Linked DNA regions of Homo sapiens: all the other regions are linked to region 1. The links are contacts of gene promoters, found by promoter capture Hi-C in blood cells and fetal thymus (Javierre and others, 2016). All regions are on one chromosome and are shown on one strand. The core of a region is centred on a gene start or on the middle of the fragment in contact, and the rest is flanking DNA. Distances in the headings are between cores, read along the strand shown. Region 1 holds the start of POP5 (POP5 ribonuclease P/MRP subunit). Region 2 overlaps LOC105378258 (a long non-coding RNA gene). Region 3 holds the start of HNF1A-AS1 (HNF1A antisense RNA 1).

Region 1 (4,274 bases), core at 702-3,201:
AAAGCTGCCCCCATTACGGACCTCACAGGACCAGCCAAGGCCAAGACACTTCTACAAATAATCAGGGATGGGCATAAAGACTAAGCTACAAAGCCATGCATCAAAGTATTGGGTATAACAAGAAAATCTAGAAATAATGTAAACGTCTACCAAAGGGATACTGACCAACTTCACAATGGTACGTCCAAACAATGCAATACTGCACAGCTAAAAAACAGTATTGTCGCTGAAGAGCTGACATGAAAATATAGCCAAATGGCCAGGCGTGGTAGCTCACGCCTGTAATCCCAGCACTTTGGGAGGCCGAGGTGGGTGGATCACCTGAGGTCAGGAGTTCAAGACCAGCCTGGCCAACATGGGGAAACCCTGTCCCTACTAAAAATACAAAAATTAGCCAGTTGTGGTGGCACACACCTGTAGTCCCAGCTACTTGGGAGGCTGAGGCAGGAGAATCGCCTGAATCCAGGAGGCAGAGGTTGCAGTGAGCTGAGATCGTGCTCCAGCTTGGGCAACAGAGTGAGACTCCGTCTCAAAAAACTAAATAAATAAATACAAAAATTAGCTGGTCGTGGTGGCAGGTGCCTGTAATCCCAGCTACTCGGGAGGCTGAGGCAGGAGAATCGCTTGAACTCAGGAGGCAGAGGTTGCAGCCAGCCTCCTGGCTGCATTTATATAAAGTTTAAGAACAGGCAAAATTAATCTAGCAGGGTAGAAGTGGTAATAGTGGCTGATAGCAGTAAGCAATTTGACTGGAAGAGGGCTCAGGGAACCTTCTGGGATACTGGAAATGCTCTTTATTTTAATCTTGGAGGTGGTTATAGAAGTCTATCCATATGTAAAAATTCATTGAGATGAATACACTTAAGAATATGTACTTTATGTAATACCCCATAAGACATTTTTTTTAAAATACTTAAAAATAAAAGAAAAAACATAATTTAACAGAGGGCATAGTTCTCAAGCTGTTTTCTCTGTCTCAGGACCCCTTTACACACGTTACTGAGGGTGCCCAAGAGCTTTTAGTTTTGTGGGTTATATTTACTATGGACATTAAAGTTGAGAAACGTTTAAAAAACAATACACAATTCCTAGAGCAGTGACGTCATCACGTCAAGCAGCCTCTGGAAAACTTGACTGTTCACTCAGAGAGAATGAAAAAGACAAGTAACATCTTAGCATTATTATGAAAGTAATTTTGACTTCGGGGACTCCCAAATCGAGTGAATTTAGGAAATCTCAGTGGTCCCCAGACGGCACTTTGAGAACCACTGGCGCAGGGAGAAAATGACAGAAGAAAACACACTACACGACAACAGTTATTCTCTCTCAGTGCTGGGATTATAATTTATTTGCTTCTTTGTGCTTTTCTGTCAAAAAAAAAAGGTAAACGGAAATGGAAAATACAATGACCACGTATTGTTTCTGCGAGCAAAAAACGAGACGGCACACTCGCCTCCCTAAGATTGCTGAAAGGCCCAAACAGCAATAGCATATTTAGCTGTATGGAAGAATTAAACTGAGCTCAAACCTGAAAATAAAAGTCCGATTTCCCGTTTGTCAATGCCTGGGCTGTGAGGTGCAGGGTCTTGCCCTCAAAAGCTCCACCGTTCACCTTGGGGAGAGAATATACTCGCATACATAACTGTGGTGCAAGGTTCCCAGGGCCCCAAGGGTAGCGGCTACATCCTACACACTATTGTAAACTTCAGTGTGCAACAGAACCATCCATTACAGCTGCAAGGCGCTCCATCCCGGGGTTCAGCCCTCAAACTAGTCAGTGACCCTCCGCAGGACGCATGCGCGCTTACAAACGCAGTTGGGCGGGGCTTGAGAGAGCTGACAGACTTCGGCCTCTCAACTTTCTAGCTCCGCCCTAATATCCTGTCTCCTTCTCTGAATGGCTGAAAGGCTGCGGAAGCAAGCTTCCCATTGGCAGCGGACAGAATTCACATCCGGTTTGCACGCCGGACCGGAGAGCGCGGAGGCAGCCATGGTGCGGTTCAAGCACAGGTAAGCATTCCCTTCCAGACCCTCCCAGTGCCTTGCTGGGTCCTCGCGGCCCCGCTAGTGTCCACCTTCCTCTCGCCTGCCGCAGGTACCTGCTCTGCGAACTGGTGTCTGACGACCCCCGCTGCCGCCTAAGCCTCGATGACCGAGTTCTGAGCAGCCTCGTACGGGACACGATCGCCAGGGTGCACGGAACTTTCGGCGCAGCCGCCTGCTCCATCGGCTTCGCGGGTGCAAGGGCGCTGGGGGAAGAGGGGAACCCGGGAGGATGGCGGGATGTGGAGGGGGCAGGCGCCGGAGGAAGAAAGAAGGGGCACGAGTGGCCAAGCCCGTGCACCGTTTTTTGTAAGGTATCTCTTTAAGCGCCTGGGACCCCAAGCGAGAGTCCGAAATTAGCAGAGCGCTAAAAGGAGGGGCCCGAAGGCAGTGGGGCTTTGAGCTAGAAGCCTCTTTTTACCTGCTTGACAGGTAATTTCTGTAATTGGTTGTGATTGAATTTGATAGGGTAGAGAATTAAATGAGGGAAGCTGTGTATACTTCCTAGTAAGAGCTATTATATGACCGATTACATTAACATCATATGGAAAAAAATTGTCAAAAGTACTCCGGGAAAGCCCTTAAATAGTTGGTAAAGTACAGAACACATGATTGTCAATATATGTAAATACAGGATGAGCTAGGACAGAGGGGCCCTTCTTTCACACCACTTAAATTAGTTCCCACTTTAACCTTGTTTGAGATTGACTTCTGGAGAGTTAAATGCAGATAGACTTAACTCTCCTAAGTCAGGTGAGACTGAGAGCTGACTGCTACAATAATTACGGAGCCCAAATGCAGTAAAACAGCCTGTTTTTCAGGCAAGGGTTTTGTGGGGGTTTTTCCTAAATTAAAACGGATCGCCTCCTACCTGCTCCTATTTATTGAATTAACTAGTGAATTAGAAAGCATTTTCAATTCTAAATTCATTCACCAGTTCTGAGTGGTGTGCAACACAGTGGGTGTTTTGGCTTTTCTCTTTTACTCGCTGATAGATCTACGTGCCACTTGCCTACAACATACTTTTGGCACATAGTAGGCTCTGTTACTCCAAAGTTTTCCTTTTTTCGAGACAGTCTGGCTGTTGCCCAGGCTGCTGGAGTGCAGCAGCGAGATCGGGGGTCATTGCTGCCTCTGCCTCCTGGGTTCAGGCGATTCTCATGCCTCAGCCTCCTGAGTGGCTGGAATTACAGGTGCGCACCACCACACCCAGCTAATTTTTGTATTTTTAGTAGAGACGGGGTTTCATCATGTTGGCCAGGCTGGCCTCGAACTCCTGACTTAAAGTGATCTGCCCGCCTCAGCCTCCCAAAGTGCTGGGATTACAGGCGTGAGCCACCACACAGAGCAAAAGTTTTCCAAAATGATTTTTCTTTCCTGTTGTAGTTCGATATCTCAATGCCTATACTGGAATAGTGCTACTTCGATGCAGAAAAGAATTCTATCAGCTTGTGTGGTCAGCTCTTCCCTTCATCACATACTTGGAGAACAAAGGACACCGTTACCCATGCTTTTTCAACACATTACATGTGGGAGGTAGGAGTGAGGTGGTATGGCTACTGATTTTCAATTGGTGACACGTTCACAGTTCAGTCTAAACTGGTGGGTGGGTCTTGCTGCTGTCCCGCTAACAAGACACTTCCCCCTACCTCTGAAAGTCTGTAAGGTCGAGATCTTTCACAAGCTGTTGACCACAGTAACTCATATGCCAGGTACAATAAGAACATGTCAGAAGTTCCTAATTCAGTACAACAGGAGACAGCTGTTGATCTTGTTGCAGAACTGCACTGATGAAGGTAAGCAACACTAGCCCAGTGCCCACTGAGCAGTGACTGACCTTAAGCTGAAGAAATCACTCCCAAAGATATCTTTCATCCCTGTTATCTGCCTTCTCCAGGAGAGCGGGAAGCTATCCAGAAGTCTGTGACAAGAAGCTGCTTATTAGAGGAGGAGGAGGAGTCAGGTGAGGAGGCTGCAGAAGCAATGGAGTGAACCTCTGCTCCCCACACAGCTGGCTACACTGCTCAGGCTTCAGGCCCACTTGTTGAACAGAACAATCTGGGTAGCAACAGCATCTTCCACAGTTTTCCAAACTGGATAGCTGCCAACCAGCAGACATTACCCACTTGAAATGGAGTACTCAGTTAAACTGAAGTTGCCTTTACCTAGCATTCCCTGGTGAAGTGTTGCAGGTTGTGAACTCTGTAGACATCTTTATTGCTTGGCTAAGA
Region 2 (4,274 bases), core at 1,054-3,553, 480 kb before region 1:
TATATTTAGTAGAGAAGGGGTTTCACTGTGTCGGCCAGGCTGGTCTCAAACTCCTGACCTCAGGTGATCCACCTACCTCGGCCTCCCAAAGTGCTGGGATTATAGGCGTCAGCCACCGCGCCCAACCAGTACCTATTTTCTTTGAAACATAACAACTCTCTCATCTTCATCCTAAAATGTTCAAAGCATATTAAAGGGCAAAAACCACAGTATGAAGAGACAGAGCATGCATCAGAGCCAGACTGCAATATACAGAGATTTGATGATTATCAGACTGATAACTATGATTAATATGCTAAAGGCTCTAATGGAAAAAGTGGATGAGATTCAAGAACCAATGGGATGTAAGTAGAGAAGTGAAAACTCTAAGAATCAAAAGGGAATGCTAGAAATAAAAAATGCCGTAACAGAAACGGAGAAGGCCTTTGATGGACCCGTCAGTGGACTGCACGTGGTTGATGAAGAAATCCGTGAACCTGAGAAAATGTCAATAGAACTTCCCAAACTGAAAAGCAAGAGAAAAAAAGACTGAGGAAAACAGAAAAAAATATCAAAAAATGGCGGGACAATTACAAAAGGTATAACATCTTCGTAAAGGGAATTCTAAAAGGAGAAAAATGAAAGAAGCAGAAGAAATATTTTAACTAATAATGGCTGATAACTCACCAAAATTATTGACAGACACCAAGCCATAGATCCAGGAATCTCAGAACACCAAACAGGATAAATACAAAGAAGTCAATATCTCATCATATCATATTCAAATTTTGTAAAATCAAAGATAAAAACTTTGAAAGAAGCCGGGCACAGTGGCTCAGGCCTGTAATCTCAGCGCTTTGGGAGGCCAAGGTGGGCTGATCACTTGAAGTCAGGAGTTCGAGACCAGCCTGGCCAACATGGTGAAACAGTCTCTACTAAAAATACAAAAATTAGCTGGGCGAGGTGATGGGTGCCTGTAGTCCCAGCTACTCAGGAGGCTGAAGCAGGAGAATTGCTTAAACCCAGGAGACAGAGCTTGCAGTGAGCCAAGATCACGCCACTGCACTCCAGCCTGGGCAACAGAGCAAGACTCCATCTCGAAAAAAAAAAGAAAAAGAAAAAAAAAAAACTTTGAAAGAAGCCAAAGGAAAATATACATACTACTCATAGAGGCACTAGTATAAGAATTACACTGGGCAGGGTGCAGTGGTTCACACTTATAATCCCAGCACTTTGGAGGCCAAGGCAGTAGGACTGCTTGAGCTCAGGAGTTTGAGACCAGCCTGGGCAACATAGAGAAACCCCATCTCTACAAAAAATATGAAATATTAGCAAGGCTTGCCAGTGTTTGCCTGTGGTTCCAGCTACTCGGGAGGCTGAGGCAGAAGGCTCACTTGAGCCTGGGAGGTTGAGGCTACAGTAAGTCAAGATTAAGGCACTGTGCTCCAGCTTGGGCACCAGAGTGAAACCCTGTCTCAGGGGAAAAAAAAAAAAAAAGAATTACGTTGAACTTCTTGTCAGGAACCACATAAGAAGGAAGAGAGTGGAGTAAAATACCTAGTGTTGAAAGAAAAAGCCCCCACACCTAGAATTCTGTACCTATCAAAATTATCCTTCAAAAGTGAAAGAGAAATAAAGAACTTTCAGGTAAGCAAAAAATGGTGGGGCATTTTGGAAGAATATAGATTTCCATTTCATAAATGCAGAAAGAATGAGGGAAATGGAGAATTGCATTGAGGCAAAATTCATCAGTAATTTATAGCCAGTAGATCTATCTTGTAAGAAATGTTATTTAAAAAAAAAAACCAAAAAAAAAAAAACTTGTTCAGAGACAAGGAAAATAGGTCAGAAACAACATCACTTTTGAGCTGAAATTTTTATTCACTATTTTATGTCATTTTTCTTTAAAGGGATCTAGAAAATTTTAGAAGCTCCACAAACCCTGGATAGGCTTTTGCAGCCAGCCATGAGCTTATCCCGCCCCTCTCACTCCACCTTATCCACCCACATTTCCAAAAACCCAGTCTTATTTTGTGACCCAGAGTCACAAGCTCCCCAAACGTGCTCAATACGTATGCTCCCAACAAATGGCAAAATCTTATTTTTACCATTAACGAAAAGAAGAAGAAAATCATTCTGGCGTTTTGTTGATGATGGTTGAGATGAGGGCAACTTCGAACTTAGAACCCTGAGTGGAACCGCTTTTTGTTCTTCCTGGGAATACCTGTTGGAAACAAGAATTAAAGAATGTGGTTACAGCCGGACGCGGTGGCTCACACCTGCAATCCCAGTACTTTGGGAGTCCGAGGCAGGCGGATCACCTGAGGTCAGGAGTTCAAGACCAGCCTGGTCAACATGGCGAAACCCTGTCTCTACAAAAAATACAAAAATTAGCCAGGGGCGGTGGCTTGTGCCTGTAATCCCAGCTGCTCAGGAGTCTGGGGCAGGAGAATCATTTGAACCCAGGAGGCAGAGGTTGCAGTGAGCTAAGATCCCACCACCGCACTCCAGCCTGGGCAACGAGAGCGAGACTCTGTCTCAAAAAAAAAAAAAAAAAAAAAAATTAAAAAAAAAAAGAATGTGGTTATTAGAGGCAATTCAGGATTATCCAGGCTTCCCTTGAAGAAACATATGCAAGGCTCTAAAATGGGAGCCAGATGGAAGAAAAAGTTGCAGGCTTACTGGGGAGGTGGGAAACACCCGGATCCCAGTCCCACATGTGACTTGAGAGCTGAGAGGCTGATGACTAGATGCCCTGCTGCCCCAGGGCTCCCTTCTGACTGATATGAAGGCTGGAGATTTTCCCTACACTATCCCTTAGCACCCAGCATGATGCACAAAAAACAGGAATTCAATAAAAAGGTTTGAGATGTGACTCTTGTTTAGGATGTCTTTTGGTCCTCAAGAATCTTCCACAGGAGAAGCCAAGCATGGTGGCATGCACTGTAATCCCAGCTATTCAGGAGGCTGAATGAAGCAGGAAGATCCTTTGAGCCCAGGAATTTGACTCCAGCCTGGGCAACATAGCGAGACGCCCCTCCATCTCTAATAAAAATTTTGAAAAATAAAAAAAAGCATCTTCCACAGCAGAGATTCTTTTTTTTTTTTTTTTTTTTTGAGACGGAGTCTCGCTCTGTCGCCCAGGCCGGACTGCGGACTGCAGTGGCGCAATCTCGGCTCACTGCAAGCTCCGCTTCCCGGGTTCACGCCATTCTCCTGCCTCAGCCTCCCGAGTAGCTGGGACTACAGGCGCCCGCCACCGCGCCCGGCTAATTTTTTGTATTTTTAGTAGAGACGGGGTTTCACCTTGTTAACCAGGATGGTCTCGATCTCCTGACCTCATGATCCACCCGCCTCGGCCTCCCAAAGTGCTGGGATTACAGGCGTGAGCCACCGCGCCCGGCCCAGAGATTCTTTTTTTATTTTTTTGAGACAGAGTCTGACGCCCAGGCTGAAGTGCAGTGGCACGATCTTGGCTCACCGCAACCTCTGCCTCCCCAGTTCAAGCGATTCTCCTGCCTCAGCCTCCCGAGCAGCTTGGATTACAGGCGCCCACCACCACGCCTGACTAATTCTTTTGTATTTTTAGTAGAGATGGGGTTTCACCATATTGGCCAGGCTGGTCTCAAACTCCTGACCTCAAGTGATCCACCCGCCTCAACCTCCCAAAGTGCTGGGATTACAGACATGAGCCATCGTGTCCGGCCCCATAGCAGAGATTCTTAACTTGGGGTCCAGGAAGCCCCTGAAATTGCATGCAAAATATTAGCATTAACATGTTTTTTAGAGGGAGGGCCCCTTGCATTCATCATTTTCTCTGGTGCTCACAAGACTTCAAAATGTTAAGAAACACTGGGGTAAATGAAGAAGCAAGCACCTCCAGGAAGGAGGTCCCGCACCACCATGCACAGAGTGTCTGCAATGCAGAACCAGAGAGGACCTTTGGGATGGTCCACTGTGGTTGAGCCACCATACTCAAAGATGGGGACCCTTGATAGATGCCTTGACGAAGCAAGCAGAAGGTCACCAGGAAGTTCTCTGTCCTCCACCATCTATCCGTTTTATGGACTAAAAAATAGTCACAAGATTGAAGTGCTTTTGCTTCCTAGGAAACATGGTGTCATTCATTCATTTATTCAGCCAACATTAACTGAGGCCCCATTGTGTGCCAAGAAATGTGCTAGACCCTGGGACCACGTGCTTCTCACGCTGAAGATTCCCAGTAGAGAAGACACATAACAAACTGCCCGTAGAATGGGGCTGCCTTATTCATTTATGTATTCTCCAAGCCTCGC
Region 3 (4,274 bases), core at 730-3,229, 390 kb before region 1:
TTTTTAGTAGAGACAAGAGTTTGCCACATTGCCCAGGCTGGTCTCAAACTCCTGAGCCCAAGCCATCTGCCCACCTCGTCCTCCCAAGGTGCTGGGATTACAGGGGTGAGCCACTGCACCCTGCCTATTTATTTACTTTTCTTAGAGATGGGGGTCTTGCTTTGTTGCCCAGGCTGGTCTCGAACTCCTGGGCTCAAGCAATCCTCTCACCTCAGCCTCCCAAAGTGTTGGGATTACAGGCATGAGCCATCTCACCTGGCCAGTAATGTATTTCACTCCAAGAACAACTCATGAATTAGGAACTGTTATAATCCCCCTTCTGCAGGGGAGGAAAGAGAGGCTCAGAGAGGTTAAATGACTGCTCAGAGTCCCTCAGAGCTGGGCTTTAAGTCCACCTGAGGCAGGCGGACGGGCTGTGCAGGACAAGTTGGCAGCCCCCGCCTTAAGGAGAGTGGTACCCTCTTTCCTCCAGTGCATTTATGTTTTATTTTTATTTTTGAGACAGAGCCTCACTTTGTCACCCAGGCTGGAGTACAGTGGTGCGATCTCAGCTCACTGTAACCTCTGCCTCCTGGGTTCGAGCAATCCTCCTACCTTAGCCTCCTGAGTAGCTGGGACTACAGGCACACACCACCATGCCTGGCTAATTTTTGTATTTTTGGTAGAGACAGGGTTTCACCATGTTTGCCAGGCTGGTCTCAAACTCCTGGCCTCAAAAGATCCACCCACCTCGGCCTCCCAAACTGTTGGGATTATAGGCGTGAGCCACCGTGCCCGGCCAAGTGCATTTTTTTGTAAACCCCCGTGCAAGTTGCTTTGAGGTTGAGCAGCTTACTGCTGGGGACAGCATTCTCAAGTCCAGGCTAAACAGGGAAGATGCTGTGTGCTGTCCCTTTGTGGCTTTGAGGTTCTCCTGCTTATTCTCTTTGCTGCCTGCAGCTGCCTCTTGGTGACTTTCCCTTTCCAGGGAGCCAGAGGAACCAAGGAGTGTTGGCCCTGACTCCTGCCCCCAGCATGTAAACTCATTAACTGCTGGGTCCTCAGGCAGTTAGGTGGCTGAGCATTTGAGTCTGGGACGGCAGGTGGATTTGGTTGGAGAGGGAATGACAGAGATTGGGGAGGAGCCTCCAGAGTCTAAAGAGATAGGTACACAAGCAGAAAGTTCCAGCCCCCAGCCTGCCTTTCCCCCATGCTCAGGGGACAAAGCTGAATTAACTCGAGGTCAGGAATGGCATTTGCATTTGCATTCTTGAGAGTCACTGCAAATAAGAGCTGTAGTCATGGTGAGTGGTTAAGGCAATGGACTAGAGAACCACTGAGAAAAAAAGCGAACAGTGGCTGGGCGCAGTGGCTCATGCCTGTCATCCCAGCACTTTGGGAGACCGAAGTGGGTGGATCACTTGAGGTCAGGAGTTCGAGACCAGCCTGGCCAACATGGTGAAAACCCGTCTCTACTAAAAATACAAAAATTAGCCAGGCTTGTCAGTGGGCACCTATAATCCCAGCTAGTCGGAAGGCTGAGGCAGGAGAATCACTTGAACCCAGAAGGCAGAGGTTGCAGTGAGCTGAGATCATGACACTGCACTCCAGCCTGGGTGACAGAGAGAAACTCCGTCTCAAAAAAAAAAGAAAAAGAAAAAAAAAAAAAGGAACAGCCGGACATGGTAGCTCATACCTGTAATCCCAGCGCTTTGGGAGACCGAGGCAGGTGGATCACCTGAGGTCAGGAGTTCCAGATCAGCCTGGCCAACATGGTAAAACCCCATCTCTACTAAAAATACAAAAATTAGCTGGATGTGGTGGCGCACACCTGTAGTCCCAGATACTCAGGAGGCTGAGGCAGGAGAATAGCTTGAACCCGGGAGGCGGAGGTTGCAGTGAGCAGAGATCACGCCACTGCACTCCAGCCTGGGCGATAGAGTAACAATCCGTCTCAAAAAAATCTGAAAATTAAAAATTAAAAAGTGAACAGTTGTTTAGTAAGTGCAGTAGGTAGGCCAAGATAACTATTAAGTATGTCCTAACAAGGTAGCTGCTTGAAAAAAATAATGCACATAAATTAAAAAAAAAAAAACTATTTTCACTCATTCTTAACTTCTCGTATGGATGTACTAACGGGAGGCCTGTGCCTGTTGGGCTGTCCACAGCTACTCAAACCTTGAGATTAGATTGGACGCTATCTAATCTCATTTCCTGTTACACAATAACTTCTGCATGGCACTTGCTTTTAATCATGACAACTGCCATACACTCAGCTTTACAAAATCATGTCATTGTGGAAAGGAAGTTCCCTCCATCTAACATTCAAATTTAACTATCCTGAGCTGGTAGTTTGCAAGGTGTCCAACAGATGTCACTGTGTTTCCTTCGCAAATTCTCTAAAATAGTCTGCTGTGTCCCGGGGCATAGTAGATATTCAAGAAATGGTGGCTATGAGTTTTATCACAATTCTCTCCTACTGGGTGAGCAGCTGTTTGCAAGACTAAAATTCGGGCGAGGCACAGGCTTCCCCTTGGTCTTAGCAGCTAGCACAAGACGAGTGTCCCTTCAGCCAGTCTCAGAGCTCTTTGGCAATTCAACTGACCCTTGTCCTTCAGTCCAGACAATGCCCCAGGGCCCACCTGCATTCAAACTCGGACTGTTCTCCTTCCCACCCCTATTATCTTTTCAACTTTATGGACAGTACATGCAATTTTCTCATTCATTTTCTCATTTAACATCTAACAGCTTCATGATATCCCCATTTTACAGATAAGGAAACCAAGGCTTTAAGAGGATAGGGACCCTAATCGGCTAAGGCAGAATTAGGATTTGAACCCAGATCCCCATGACGCCAGAATCTAAGCCTTGACCAAATATGTGTTACTATTACTTTTGTTGTTGTTGTTGTTCTGGGTAACTCCAACCCTCTGCTCGTTGGCCTTGTCACCTCAGTGCTGATTTTGCAGATGAAGAGACTAAGGTTCCGAGGTGCTAGAGCACAGTGGTTAGGAACACACACTCTAGAGCCAGAGTGCCTGGGTTTGAGCCTCGTTCTGCCGTTTACTAGCCGTATGGCCTTGGGCAACTTGCTTAACTTCTCTTTGCCTCAGTTCCTCTTCTCTTGGGTTGTTAGGAGAATGAATGAGGTGATATCCACAGTGTCCAACACCCTGCAAGCGGCCAGGTGTGGTGGATCACACCTGCAATCCCAGCACTTTGGGAGGCCGAGGCAGGTGGATCATTTGAGGTCAGGAGTTCGAGACCAGTCTGGCCAACATGGCGAAACCTCATTTCTACTAAAAATACAAAAATTAGCCGGGCGTGGTGGCAAACAACTGTAATCCGAGCTACTAGGGAGGCTGAGGCAGAAGAATCGCTTGAACCCAGGAGACAGAGGTTGCAGTGAGCCAAGATTGCACCACTGCACTCCAGCCTGGGCGACAGAGTGAGACCCTGCCTCAAAAACTAAAAATAAAAAATGAACAGTGTCCAACACCTTGAAAGCATTCCGCATGACTGAACGATCACTGTTACGTGATTACCAACATGACGACCCCACTTCTCTTGGCCAAACTGAGTTCTCTTCTCTTGTAAAAACTTCTGCATATGAAGTCACCCATTCCATTTGACTCTTTAGCCCTCATCCTGGCATTCAAGGGCATGGACGACTCAACCCCACTCTCTAGCCAGCCTGACCTCTCCATTCCCTTCTCTGGCGTAGAGGCCACTCCCACCACCTGCCCTTACCCCCTGCCCACTTTTGTCAGCCTGTACTGTGTTGAAGCTCCCAGGAGAGACAACTGCAGTCATCACTTTCCACTGTGTTCAGTGATGTCAGTTCGGCCCAGCTGGAGGTACTCACATCATGGAAACAGACCATCAGATTTGGTGTGTGTGTGTTTTATTTTGCTTTTTCAGAGAGCCAGCTGTTAAACACTAGCCAACACCCCATTGATGCTGTTCCTTCTACCTGAAACACCTCGCATTGCCGGTGAGCTCTAAAGACAAAAGGACCTGGGTCTGCATTTCCCAAAGGCAAGACTCTGGTATCACCTGCATATTATTTTCCCATATTTGAGCACCACTGCCTTTTGCATTATTTACTTAGCAGTTTTGCTCCTGTCAACTCACTTTTTTAAAACTAAACTTATTTTAAAAAGAAAAGTTTTGGCCGGGAGCGGTGGCTCATGCCTGTAATCCCAGCACTTTGGGAGGCCGAGGTGGGCAGATCACCTGAGGTCGGGAGTTCGAGACCAGCCTGACCAACATGGAGAAACTCCGTCTCTACTAAA

What was found. Contacts are between HindIII fragments. The CHiCAGO score rates a contact against its expected background, and 5 or more counts as called.
Region 2: a contact is called between a fragment that was not itself captured here and the fragment with the promoter of POP5 in region 1, in 4 of 17 cell types (total B cells, naive CD4 T cells, naive B cells and 1 more). The highest score is 9.4, in total B cells.
Region 3: the fragment with the promoter of HNF1A-AS1 here is called in contact with the fragment with the promoter of POP5 in region 1 in 6 of 17 cell types (M0 macrophages, total B cells, naive B cells and 3 more); the score reaches 10.8 in M0 macrophages.

The regions. Positions count from the first base shown.
Region 1 is chr12:120,579,079-120,583,352 of GRCh38, reverse strand. POP5 (POP5 ribonuclease P/MRP subunit) reads left to right here and starts at 1,951. Exons shown (of 5, transcript NM_015918.4): 1 at 1,951-2,010; 2 at 2,096-2,238; 3 at 3,430-3,579; 4 at 3,756-3,839; 5 at 3,941-4,274. The coding sequence starts at 1,991. The coding sequence ends at 4,035. The HindIII fragment of the contact is 2,825 bases long and covers 1,925-4,274 here.
Region 2 is chr12:121,062,799-121,067,072 of GRCh38, reverse strand. The region is part of intron 3 of LOC105378258 (a long non-coding RNA gene); the gene reads left to right. Among named protein-coding and RNA genes, the nearest start is that of OASL, 26 kb to the right of the region's middle. The HindIII fragment of the contact is 6,035 bases long and covers 1-4,274 here.
Region 3 is chr12:120,969,997-120,974,270 of GRCh38, reverse strand. HNF1A-AS1 (HNF1A antisense RNA 1) reads left to right here and starts at 1,979. Exons shown (of 1, transcript NR_024345.1): 1 at 1,979-4,274. RefSeq lists an enhancer at 859-1,386. The HindIII fragment of the contact is 11,110 bases long and covers 1-4,274 here.